Regions from separate parts of the Homo sapiens genome. Here region 2 is linked to region 1. Evidence: promoter capture Hi-C in 16 types of primary human blood cells and fetal thymus (Javierre and others, 2016). All regions are on one chromosome and are shown on one strand. Each heading gives the region's core, a stretch centred on a gene start or on the middle of the fragment in contact. The rest is flanking DNA. Distances are from core to core; before and after follow the strand shown. Region 1 holds the start of SALL1 (spalt like transcription factor 1). Region 2 holds the start of LINC01571 (long intergenic non-protein coding RNA 1571).

What was found. Contacts are between HindIII fragments. The CHiCAGO score rates a contact against its expected background, and 5 or more counts as called.
Region 2: a fragment that was not itself captured here is called in contact with the fragment with the promoter of SALL1 in region 1 in 1 of 17 cell types (endothelial precursors); the score reaches 6.8 in endothelial precursors.

The regions. Positions count from the first base shown.
Region 1 is chr16:51,148,812-51,154,164 of GRCh38, reverse strand. SALL1 (spalt like transcription factor 1) reads left to right here and starts at 2,895. Exons shown (of 3, transcript NM_002968.3): 1 at 2,895-2,999. The coding sequence starts at 2,924. RefSeq lists an enhancer at 3,198-3,698. The HindIII fragment of the contact is 4,337 bases long and covers 229-4,565 here.
Region 2 is chr16:51,760,734-51,766,086 of GRCh38, reverse strand. It overlaps LINC01571 (long intergenic non-protein coding RNA 1571), which reads right to left and starts at 3,568. Exons shown (of 3, transcript NR_110916.1): 1 at 3,512-3,568. LOC105371257 (a long non-coding RNA gene) reads left to right here. Exons shown (of 4, transcript XR_001752182.1): 3 at 3,671-4,157. The HindIII fragment of the contact is 4,119 bases long and covers 490-4,608 here.

The sequences.
Region 1 (5,353 bases), core at 1,646-4,145:
CCCCCAATTTATTCGTCTCTGCTCGCCCATTTTTAATTAAGCATCGCGTAGCTGCTTTTCGCATGTTCATTTCGTTTGGTTGTTTGTTGTGGTGTTTTTTTGGGGGGGGGGAATTTTTTTTTTTCCTACACTTAATCTTAAATCACACGTAGACCAAGTAACAAACACGTGTGAAGTTATTCCCGGGAGCTTCCTGCTGCGCACGCGGCGCGCACCAGGAGAAAAGCTTTGCGGGACCGCCAGCTCCGCTAGGTTCCTGGCTGCATGCGGTGCCCGGGAGGCCCGGACTTTCAAGAAGCCAAGATTGTTAGAGAAGGATGCGGGCGGCTCCAAACACGGGCACATTCCGGGAAAGGAGTGTGCAAGTGCACACAAACGCGTTCGTGTACCTGGGACAGTGTGGATTGGTGGGTGTGCGAGGACCCCTGTTTGTGAGATGGAGGCGGGTGCGGGATTTACACGTGCTCCCGTACACGTTCCCCGGGGTCTGGGAGATGCGAGCCGCTCACACCCCAGGAGTGCGCAGATCCATCTTTGCCGAGGGATCTCTTTAAATATTCAGTGAGAAATAATGGCATTTGAAGCACCACCTATGGAAACATTATTATCTTCATTCTTCAACATCAGCCCCACTGATAGCTTCGTTTGTCTTTTTATCAAAATCTACTGTACCCATCAGGACCTGGCGAGAACGGGAGAGCGAGGCGGAGAGGGTGTGAATGTGTGTGTTAGGGAGTGAGCGAGGGCAGAAGATAAGTAAGAGAAAAGGTGGAAAACGGACGAGCAGGGAGAGAGAAGGGAGAAGTTATACCAATAAAAAAAAATAAAGTCAGCAGATGAAAAACAGAAACATTCATCGGCACACACACACATTTACACCTTAAAAGAAAAGATTTAAGAAGCTAAGAGAAAGGGAAGGGTCCTCTACCGGAGCGCAGTACAGGTCCGGAGTACACGAAGTCGGCTCGGGAGACCGGTGCCCACTTCGCGCGAACCGACCGTGGCACCGGCCAGACTCAAGGGCGCTCGCGAATTGGGGCGTCCTTATGAGCCCTCTCCTTTCCTGATCGTGAGATAGGGCAGGGATTGTGTATCTGCACCCCCCTCCTCCCCCATTACTCAGCCGAAGTTTAGTTTAGTTTAGTCCTTCGGGCGCAAGACTTCGAGAACCTTGGAGCGAGGAGACCCCGAGGCGCGAGGGGAAAGAGCTAGGCTGAGCCGCGTACCGAGTCTCAGGTTCGCGGGCGCCTGAGCCCGGCAGAGGGATCGGGCTCCTGGCTCTGGGCTCTGGGGCGAGGGTAGGGAGGTTGCATCTCAGCTTGAGGGAGATGGTGATAGAGCGAAAAGTTCGGGCGCCGCGCTCGGCAAGTGCCCAAAAAGTGGAGGCGAGCTTCGGCGCCGCCAGGCAGCCTCGGACAGAACACCTCCCCACCGCCCTCCCCCCACCCCGCTTTCCGGCTCTGCGCCGCCACCTCGTCCCGGAAGGCTGGGGCGCGGCCCCCTCCCCAGGGCGGGGTGCCCAGGGGTCCCAGGGACTGGCCCAGTCCAGTGCCGGGTCCGCCCGGGCTGTGTCTCCCTAGGCCGGTGCTCGCTGCTGCGCTCAGTGTGAGCCGCAGCCCCTCCCCTCCCCCCGGCCGGAGCTGAACTCGGAGCCCAGGCCGGTCCCCGCTCTCCGCCCGCCCGGGGCTCTGCGGCGCCACCGCTGCCGCCGCCTCCCCGCGGAGTGACGCGCCCTGCAGCCAACCGGGGCAGCCGGGGGGGAGGTCCGGGAGGGGTCCTGGGCGGAGCCGGGCCGCCCCCTTATCCCACGGGCTCGGGGCTGCTTCTCCCGAAAACTTCAGCCCTAATTGTCCTGGGAATGTCCGAGGTAGAGAAAGGGAGCGAGGGAGCAAGCAAGAAGCTGGAGGATCAGTGCCCCTGGCGGGGAGGGGATGGGGTGGCGGGAGAACTGCCCCTCCCCCCAGCCACAAACCCATCAGGTTCCCAAACCTTTCCTGGATCCTCTTCTCCGCGCCCCCGCGAGCCCGGGATCCAGGGGATGGAGAACTCGGGGCGGAGGAGCGCCGAGCCAGGCGGGAGGGAGGCCGAGCCGTGGGCGGGAGGCGGACCGGCGTGGGGCTGGCTCTTCCCCACTCGCTTATTTTTTTTTTTAATGGGGGTGGGGGTGGGCTGCTTTCTGGTAGCTCTTAAAGAAACGAAGAAACACTCACGAAACGGGACGCCCTCCCCCCTGATCCCGCCGCGGGACTCCCTCCCCCCGCGGGCCGGCGCGCCTCGCCCCCGAGTTGGGAAGTTCGCAGCGCGCCGGCAGCCCGGGTCCCCAGCCCTCGCCGCCCGGCCCCACCCCCCACCCGGGGCGGCTCAATTCCGGGGAGGGCATGCTAATTTGGGTCGGCCCAGCCCGGGATTGTGGGGGGGGGCGAAGGAGGGAGGGAAGAGGGAGGGGAGAGGGAGAGAGCGGGGGGCGCCTGCCGGGGCGCCGGGCCCGCAGTGGAGAGGAGGCCGGCCCCCGGCGGCCGGGCCGCGGAGTCCCGGGCGGTCGCAAAGAGGGTTAACCCAGTGTCGGGCGGCGCGGCGCGCAGAGCCAGCCCCGCGGCCGGCTTATTGGGCCAGCGCGCGGAGAGACAGGGGTCTGCAGCAAATCACGAACTAATTGATTAAGGCGAGCGGGTTTGAATAGCGCTGGCCCGGTGCCAATCGCCTTTCAAAGAGCCCCTCTATGATTAATCGCAATGCATTATTGATAATCATAATTATAGCAGGACACATGCGCGCTGCGCCCGGGGCCGGGGAGCCGGGGAGGGGGCGGGCGGGCCGGCGGGCGGGGGGAGCCGCCGCCGCCGCCGCCGCTCGATTTCCGTAATTTTGAGAAGATTTTTTTTTAGTAATTTTTTATTCTGCCCCAGCTGATGTTTGAGCCAGCATGTCGCGGAGGAAGCAAGCGAAGCCTCAACATTTCCAATCCGACCCCGAAGTGGCCTCGCTCCCCCGGCGAGATGGTGAGTGCTCCGGCCCGCGCCGTGGACACACACACACGCACTCACACTCACGCACACTCGGACCCACTCACACGCGGCTGGCCCCCGCGCCCCCTACCTCACCGCCGCCGCGGCCCCGATTGCTTCTTCCACTCGGCGTAATTTTTTTTTTCTTTTTAATTTTCAATGTGCCTTTGCTGGGCTTTCCCCCGCTGCCCCGGGGAAAGCGAGCACATCTCCCGGCAGGATCTTTCCGGAGTTGTTGGGTCCTCCCGGGGGAAGGAGGGCGGGCATGCCGGCCTGGCTTCTCCGTCCCTGCTTTTCCGGGGATCCCAGCCGCGGCCAAGACCCGGGAGCCCCATGAGGCGTGGGTGCGGGTGGAGGTCGCCCCGGCCTGACCGCACGGGGCCCCTAGCGCTCCCGGCGCCGGCCCCAGGGCACCCGGCCCGGCCTCCGCCGCCCGGCCTTGCTGCCAGCGGTAAGGAAGTTTACTTCGGGCGCTGGGCTGAACTCCGAGCGTGGGGGAGTTCGCTGCGCCCCCCTGCCCCCACGCACACTCCCCCTCGGCCTGCGAGGCAGAACCGGGTGTCTTTGGAGGTTCAGAGCTGCAAGAAGATGGGGACTGGTGTCGGGGCGCCAGCGCCTGACCCGCTGGGGTTGCGGCCGGGGTGGAGAGTGCTGCTGGCCGCCAGTTGTTCCGGAGACGGTGCAAACGGACGGGGAAAGTGTCGGGGTCTGGCTCGCAAAATTTATCTCCGCATCTCTTCCCACAACACTTGCACCCTCTGCCCCCCAAAATCTTTCTGGTCGGTATGCGCCCTCTGCGGATCGTGGTGCTCCCTACTTCCAGGGGGGTCAGGGAAGAAGTCATAGAATAGTTTTCCAGGTTTGCGGGTGGCCAGCCAGAGTGGAATCCCCCCTGAAACAGGGGCACTTGTTTTCTCCGATGGAGGCGACAACTGTGGGTCCCGAAGGGGCTGAACAAGTCCAGAACAAAGTTTGTGTGTGGGGGCTATGGCAGAGAGTGGAAGAGATCCGGGCAGGGAGTTGGGGTACAAAGGGAGGACACCTGGAATCCCTCCTTGCTCCTAAAGGTGTTTCACGGTACCGGCCTCAAAGCTCCCAGGCCTAGCGCCCGAGGCGGTGTAGCGGCGCCCGGACTCGGGTCCCCGGGTCGTCCCGGCACGATGCTGGCCTCTCGGCTGTGGGAGGACGCACAAGGAGCAATCTCGGCGGGGTCTCAGCGGCTCCGGATGCCACTCGGGATGCCCACGCCCTAGGCGGCATTTTGGGGTGTGAAGGAGGGAGCTGGGCCCCGACAGAGCTCCGAAGCGTGACCCTGATCGGCACCTCAGCCCACTAAGCTGCGGCCGCCCGGGCCCCCAGGTCCCCGGCTCGTTTCCCAGAGGCCTGCCTCTCGGTAGAGCTGGGGCACAGTGAAGCGAAGGGACCCCCGCTCCCTTTACCCCTGATGTCGGGAAAGGGGAATCCTGACTTGGGGTCCCTGTAAAAAAATGGAGGACTTGAAATTAATTAAGAAATGCTTTACAATAGCCCTCCTCCCGGCCCCCAGTGTTTCCTCAAGCTTGAATCCTTACCCACGGCCTCTGCGATTTCTCAGTCCGCTGAAAAGAGCCCCTGAACCCCGCTTTCCACCCCAAGCGAAAGCGAGCACGCGGGGTAGATGGAGGTGAGATGACCCAAGGCCGCAGCAGCTGCGCCGAGTATTTTTCCGGGTTTTCTCAGCTTAGTTTCTTCTGCTTCCCGCAGTCACACTCATCTTTCCTAAAGTTTCTGGTGAGACCTTTTGCACCGGAAAACTGTTCAGGTTAACAGTTTGTACACAAAAAAGCAAACTAGAGATAAGAGAGCATTATATAGTGTGTTTTGTAAATTTGTACTGGTTTTCTACATTTAAAAAAAAAAAGTCTCGGCCTTCGAGGAGAAATGATGCGTGGAAGATCTTTGCCTTTTGCCTTCAGTATCAGGAATTTTTAATAGTTAAGTCTTCTCATAAAGCAATAATATAAAAGGAGTTCACTACCTCTTACCATTATTCTTTATTAGTACTATTTTTTTCAATTTAGTTTATTTGAGCTTTGAGGTAAGTTAAGTAACTCAATCAAGTTTCCTTTCTTTCTCTTTTCTCTCCTTCTTTTGATTTCTTTCTCTTCCTTCCTTTCTTTTTTCTTCGCAAAAGCTGGTACATTGTCCTAAAGAAGCAGTAAACTGTTAGGGGCTCCCTAGGAAACACCCCCTCCCAGCCTTCTTTCCTCACCTCTCCCCACCCCCTCCTCTTTTTCTTCAGTAGTAATGGTTTTAGGTTATGACTGTTTTTACATGGTTGAACAATAAGTTTGGGAGAAGTTGCCTAG
Region 2 (5,353 bases), core at 1,300-3,799, 610 kb before region 1:
ATTATTAGTGGCAAATGTGGGAACTTTCTAATCTGTAAGAAAGGGACAAAGCCCTAAGCATTTGCCTGATCAGGTTGTGAGGTCACTACCTTCTTCTCAGGACAGTACTTAATTCTTCAGTCACTGAATAGTCAACACCCTCCCCAGCACGCTGTCCCTGGGTTTTTGGTTATGTCTAGATTTGGCCAATAGAGTCCTGAGAGCACATCTCCATTCTAGAAAAGGAGCTTGCAAAACTGTAGCATGTACTTGAGAGGGAAAGCCCCTGGGATGCTCCAAAGATGAAGTGGAGGCGCAAGAAAATATTTCAATGAAAACAATTTGAATAGCATTTTTCAGAGCAAGGTCCTTGAATTGGTTCCATTCATGAAATAGAGTACATGAGGATTTTATATTTTCAAAAAAATTCATCCATTTGTCTTTGGGAGGCATAGTCCTGTCAGAGCCTGGTCTCCTTGGTGGGCACCACACCCAGCAGACACAAAAGCTTCTCCTGGCTTGAAGCCACCAGCAAAGGCAGCCTCGGCTTCTCCAGCACCTTGGCTCTGGGTTGAGTCTCACCTGTGTTGAATGGTTTCTCTGCAGGAGCAATTTTAAGGCTAAAAATAAAGTCAAAAGAGAAAGGAAAAAAAGAAAGGAAAATAGGGAAACATCACTCTTCTATCTCCACCTGGCCTCATGTACTGCTCTTTGACATTCATTAGAAAAACACAAAGTCCAAGTGGGAAAGAGGGAGTTCCCAGGCAAAACAAGATTTTGCTATCATTTGCAAGAACAGTCCTTCTTTCTGTTGCCCCTGACTGCAACCTTCCCTCGCCAGTAATAATGAGCCTGTGAAATGCTCATGGAGATCTGTTGTTAGGCTGGGGCACTTGGATCTAATTCTAGAAGGTTCAGATCTTCAGCCTGTTGCTTCTTATTTCACTGGTCCAGAAAGAGCCACTCAGATGATAAGACTGGCAGAAAAGAAGGGCATGGTGTAAACAAAGTCCCTGTCTCACCTGGAGCCCTTTTTGCCACTTGCAATTATATGGTTTCATTTCAGTGCTTGCAGCTGAAGCTGACCTTTCTTTGCATTACAGCTAGTTTCATTAACACCTTTTTCTTTTCTTCCTCGGTGTGAGGTTTTATACTTTGGTTTTGATGGCCAGATTGCTTTGGGGAGCACAGGCAGCTTGTGGCACCATCCTGGGCACAGTGGATACTTACAAAAGACTTAGATGCAATTTTTGCTGCTGAATTCCAGTTGGAACTTCAAAAACAGATGAGGTTAACAGAGTGCATGTCTGATTTTTAGAAACCTAGTGTTTTAGAACCAAAATGGACTCGAGGACTTAATAAGGAACTAACCCCTCCTTTTAAAAATAATGTAAGTGAGGCTCAGATGTCATAAGAGACATGAACAAGGACACTTGGTCACAGCATAGCCAAAATATAAGGTCACATTTTTGCCCTGAGGTTGGCCACAATATGGAATAACAGTTTTGCCACCAATCTTGAAGTCTCAAGATAGGTAACCAATGTAAGTCTTTGAAATAATGCATATTAGAGTATTTTAAGATTAATCTTTTTATCCAGATAAGATGAAATGGCTTTAGAACTTTTGCTTTAATAGGAAGAGGAGGCTAATTGGCACACTCTTTGCTTGTATCTAACTGTGTGCTTAAGAGTGTGAAATCACTTGGTAGAACAAAGTCCTTAAAACAATCATGAACAATGGTGATAGAAAAGGAAGCTGTGGGACTCCTCAGCCAGAAAAGGGTCTCTAGGTAAAGATTCACTTTGCCAGGAAACCTCACAAATTATAAACTAGTGGCATTTCCAGATGAATGGTATTTTACTTTATGGTTCTTTGAAGCACGCGTGAATCATTCTGAAATGATTATATGAAGAACTGGTTTTATGACGTGAGCTTATGTGGTACGTTAGCTCCCAGTTGGCTATCCTGGGGAAGCAAAGACAGTGTGGTTAATCGAGAGAATCAAAACTAAATTTCTAGACCTGATTTCTGACCCTAGCTGTGCCTCGAACCAGCTGTGTAACTGGGCAAATTACTTTGCCTCTGCCAATTTTGGTTTCCTGGCTAAAGATTTTTACTAGAGGGTCTCTAATAGGTTGCCAGGTTGAGAAGGAAAAAAAAAAGTAAGGAAGAAAGGAAAGAAGGAAGGGAGAAGGAAGGGAGGAAAAAAAAAAAACAAAAACAACACACAGGCATCCACTTAAATCTGAATGTCAGATAAACAAAGAATATCTTTTAGTGTAAGTATGCCCCACGTAATATCTGGGACATACTTACACTAAAATCAAACCACTATTCATTCTTTTTCTGAAATTCAAATGTAACTGGGTATTCTGTAATTTATCTGGCAACCCTAGGCCTCCAATTCTATAATTAATGATTCTGACTGTATTTGTTTCTAAAAGTGTATGAAGGAGAGAGAGAGAGAGAGAAGCAATCCCCTGAAAGCACTCACCAGCCGGTTGCTAGTCTGCAAAAGGACAGCTCATGGCATTAGAGTAAAAGTCTCTTTAGGCTGAGAGGCAGCCCTGGAGAAAACAACGCCCTTTCCTGATGACATAGGCCCCTCCCATGGCTGTCCTGAGAGCCAGACCTCTTTGTGGGCCTAGAGAGCTCTGTGCCCTGAACCGTCTCAGTGGCAGGCAGTGCTGTGCTGAGCGCCCTAAGAAAAAGCCTAGTCCCTTCCATACACAAAGACAATTGCAATTAATCCCTGTTGTGAGCCACCAGGCACCAAGGATCACAGAATCCTCACAACAGGGGCCTAAACAAATCATCCTTAGGTGGAAACCAGGAATGGATCCAGCCTCCCCTTTCTCCCTAAGTAATGTGGACATAGAGGGCATCCACCCCAACCTGTTTGTTATGGGACTGGGTAAGAGTGGGAAGATAGAGCAAGATAGAGAGAGGAAGAGGATGTGAGATGCTGGAAGTCAGTGTTGCAGTCAGTTAGCAAAAGGCCGGGTAGTTAGAATTGGGATACCGAGATTTCCCCCACAACCTTAAAAAATAATTGCAGGTAACACTTTATTCTGTGTTACAGTGAGGTCCCTCCCTTAAGCATAATGACTGCTTCTTTGGTCCATTTAGTTTGGGTCTTTTGCAATTTATCAGAGATGAGTTCCCTGGAGTCTGGGATCCCATTCAAAGCAGTGTGGGCGCACGCATAAGTGTGTTGATTGCATTTCCACAATCCTCAGATTCTGCCCTTGAGAGGGGCTGTCCCTCCACTGATTCCTGGAATGGATGGGCAAACAGAGCCCCAGTGTCTCCAAAAGCACTTCAGAATCCCCCTCACCACCACCGCCACGCCGCCAGGAAATGAATTAACCTGGACACCCAGACAGCTGCCATTAACTCGACCTCCCCTCCATAAAGAAGCACGCAGAGCCGGAGTGTAAAGAGGATATGGTTAGGATACGATGTTTAACAGAGAGAAAGAAAGGAGGAGAAACAACTGTTTGCTTTAGATGCAAATAAACTCAACTTCACCTTTAAAGCTGAAAACCTGTGCCCTTGGCAAGACGTTTGGGGACTGTTCCAGAGATATTAATCTTCCTCCGTTTACATGTTAAATAGATCTTTGGAAACGGTTTCTCCAGCACTGTTTTTTCTCTCCGGCACAATCTCCTTCTCTCTTTCTTTTTTTAGTACAGTCAGGACTCCCCAGCAGCGAGAAGCCCCGGGGGACGAAGGTGGAGGCACCAAGCCGTGTGGATTTCAGAGCCATCCGCGGCTGCCGGCTGTTGGGGCGGCCAGGAGTGGCCTGCCAGCAGATGGCGCTGCGCCGCACGTTATGGACCCTCGTGTGCCCGACCGGCTCAGGGAAGGAGACAGACGGCTCAAAGTTTCTAGTGCCATTCCTGGACTGAAACAAATGTTTGTGGAATTAAGTAGTGATTTCCTTTAGTGTGCGCCACTCTTACTGGCTGTGTTTTCAGGCCTAGATGTTAACATATGCCACATATTACTTTTTTTTTTTTTTTTTTCCTGGTGAAGTCAGGGGTTTCCAAGCACTCAGCCTCATCCTAAGTGTTCATGTCAACTAGCAAAGGTCTGCATTTTCTGATAAAATAACTTATAAAACTTCCATATTAAGAGCTAAAATGGTTTGGAAGACAAAGAAGTGCTGAGAAATGTAAGTAAACAGAGCACCTAACATTTTGTCTTTCTAAATAAACAAACGGGGAGGGAGGTGTTCCTTTATTAGGCTCAAAAATTACTCATGAGAGCGGCCAGGAGGAGATTCAAGGCATTCGGGAAAAAGTGTCTCTGGCTACTGGGGGGAAGGGGGTTGCATTATGTGATTGCTGGAAACACTGAGGTGCAATGATCATAAATGTAGAATCGTGGAGAAAATTTAGGATATGCTCGGAACACCCAAGGCACAGCCAGAAGTCCCTGGGTTTTCAGAACCCAGTTAAACAACAATGGGTTAAGGGTGATAGGAATTGCCAGTGCAATTGCTTCACCATGCCAAGTGGCTCCATTAGTTAGGGTTCAGTATGTATTTAATGTTGCCATAAAATCTGTCTTCTCAAAGTAAACAAGGCAAGTCTGTGAGCATCTCCGACAAGATGTATGAAGCTTTGTTTGGGATAATGGATTTGACATGAGTAAAAACACTGGGGATTAAATGGACCCAGCACGGATAAATATGACTAATTGTCATCTCCTCGTATCAGCGTAAACATCTCTAGCACCGCATACTAGGGAGAGATGGTGGAGCAAGGGGGTTTGGGGGCGATTAGTCACTGCAGAATTGATTCACAACTGATTGATTAAGCAGGGATGGAGGGGAACATTGAGGCCTTTCCTTCCACATGGAGGTGAATGTCGCGTTTTAGAATTTCCAAGCATTTCTTGCTCAGATTGAACTGTGAGTCACAGCCCTAAAGAGTGAGTACACAGCTGTTCTGTTGTGTGTGTACACGGTAACTTTGGGCTTCTTTTTCTTAAATGTTCATTAATCTTTTAAAACTGGCAGAATGGCCCGAGCATCTTTTACACAAAAGAACAAGATCTGAAGTCTTGTCATGGACTTTTTAGAAGTTTTCAGCAAGCGACTCAATTCCTGTTTCTCTTAATGTACATAGAGATAATATTTAACTTTCCTCACCTATGTTACTGCTTTATTTTGTAAATATCGCTATGTGGATTTCTTTTTCTTAGATGATGAATACATATATCTAATACTAAAATACATTTTTTCAAAGTAAGCAATATTCTCAGGCTTTGAAACTTTCTCATTTGGAGCAGTAATTATATTTAAGGTCATTAAATAATCTGAAAGAGAATATTCATTTACTAACATATGGTTTTTAACATTTGATT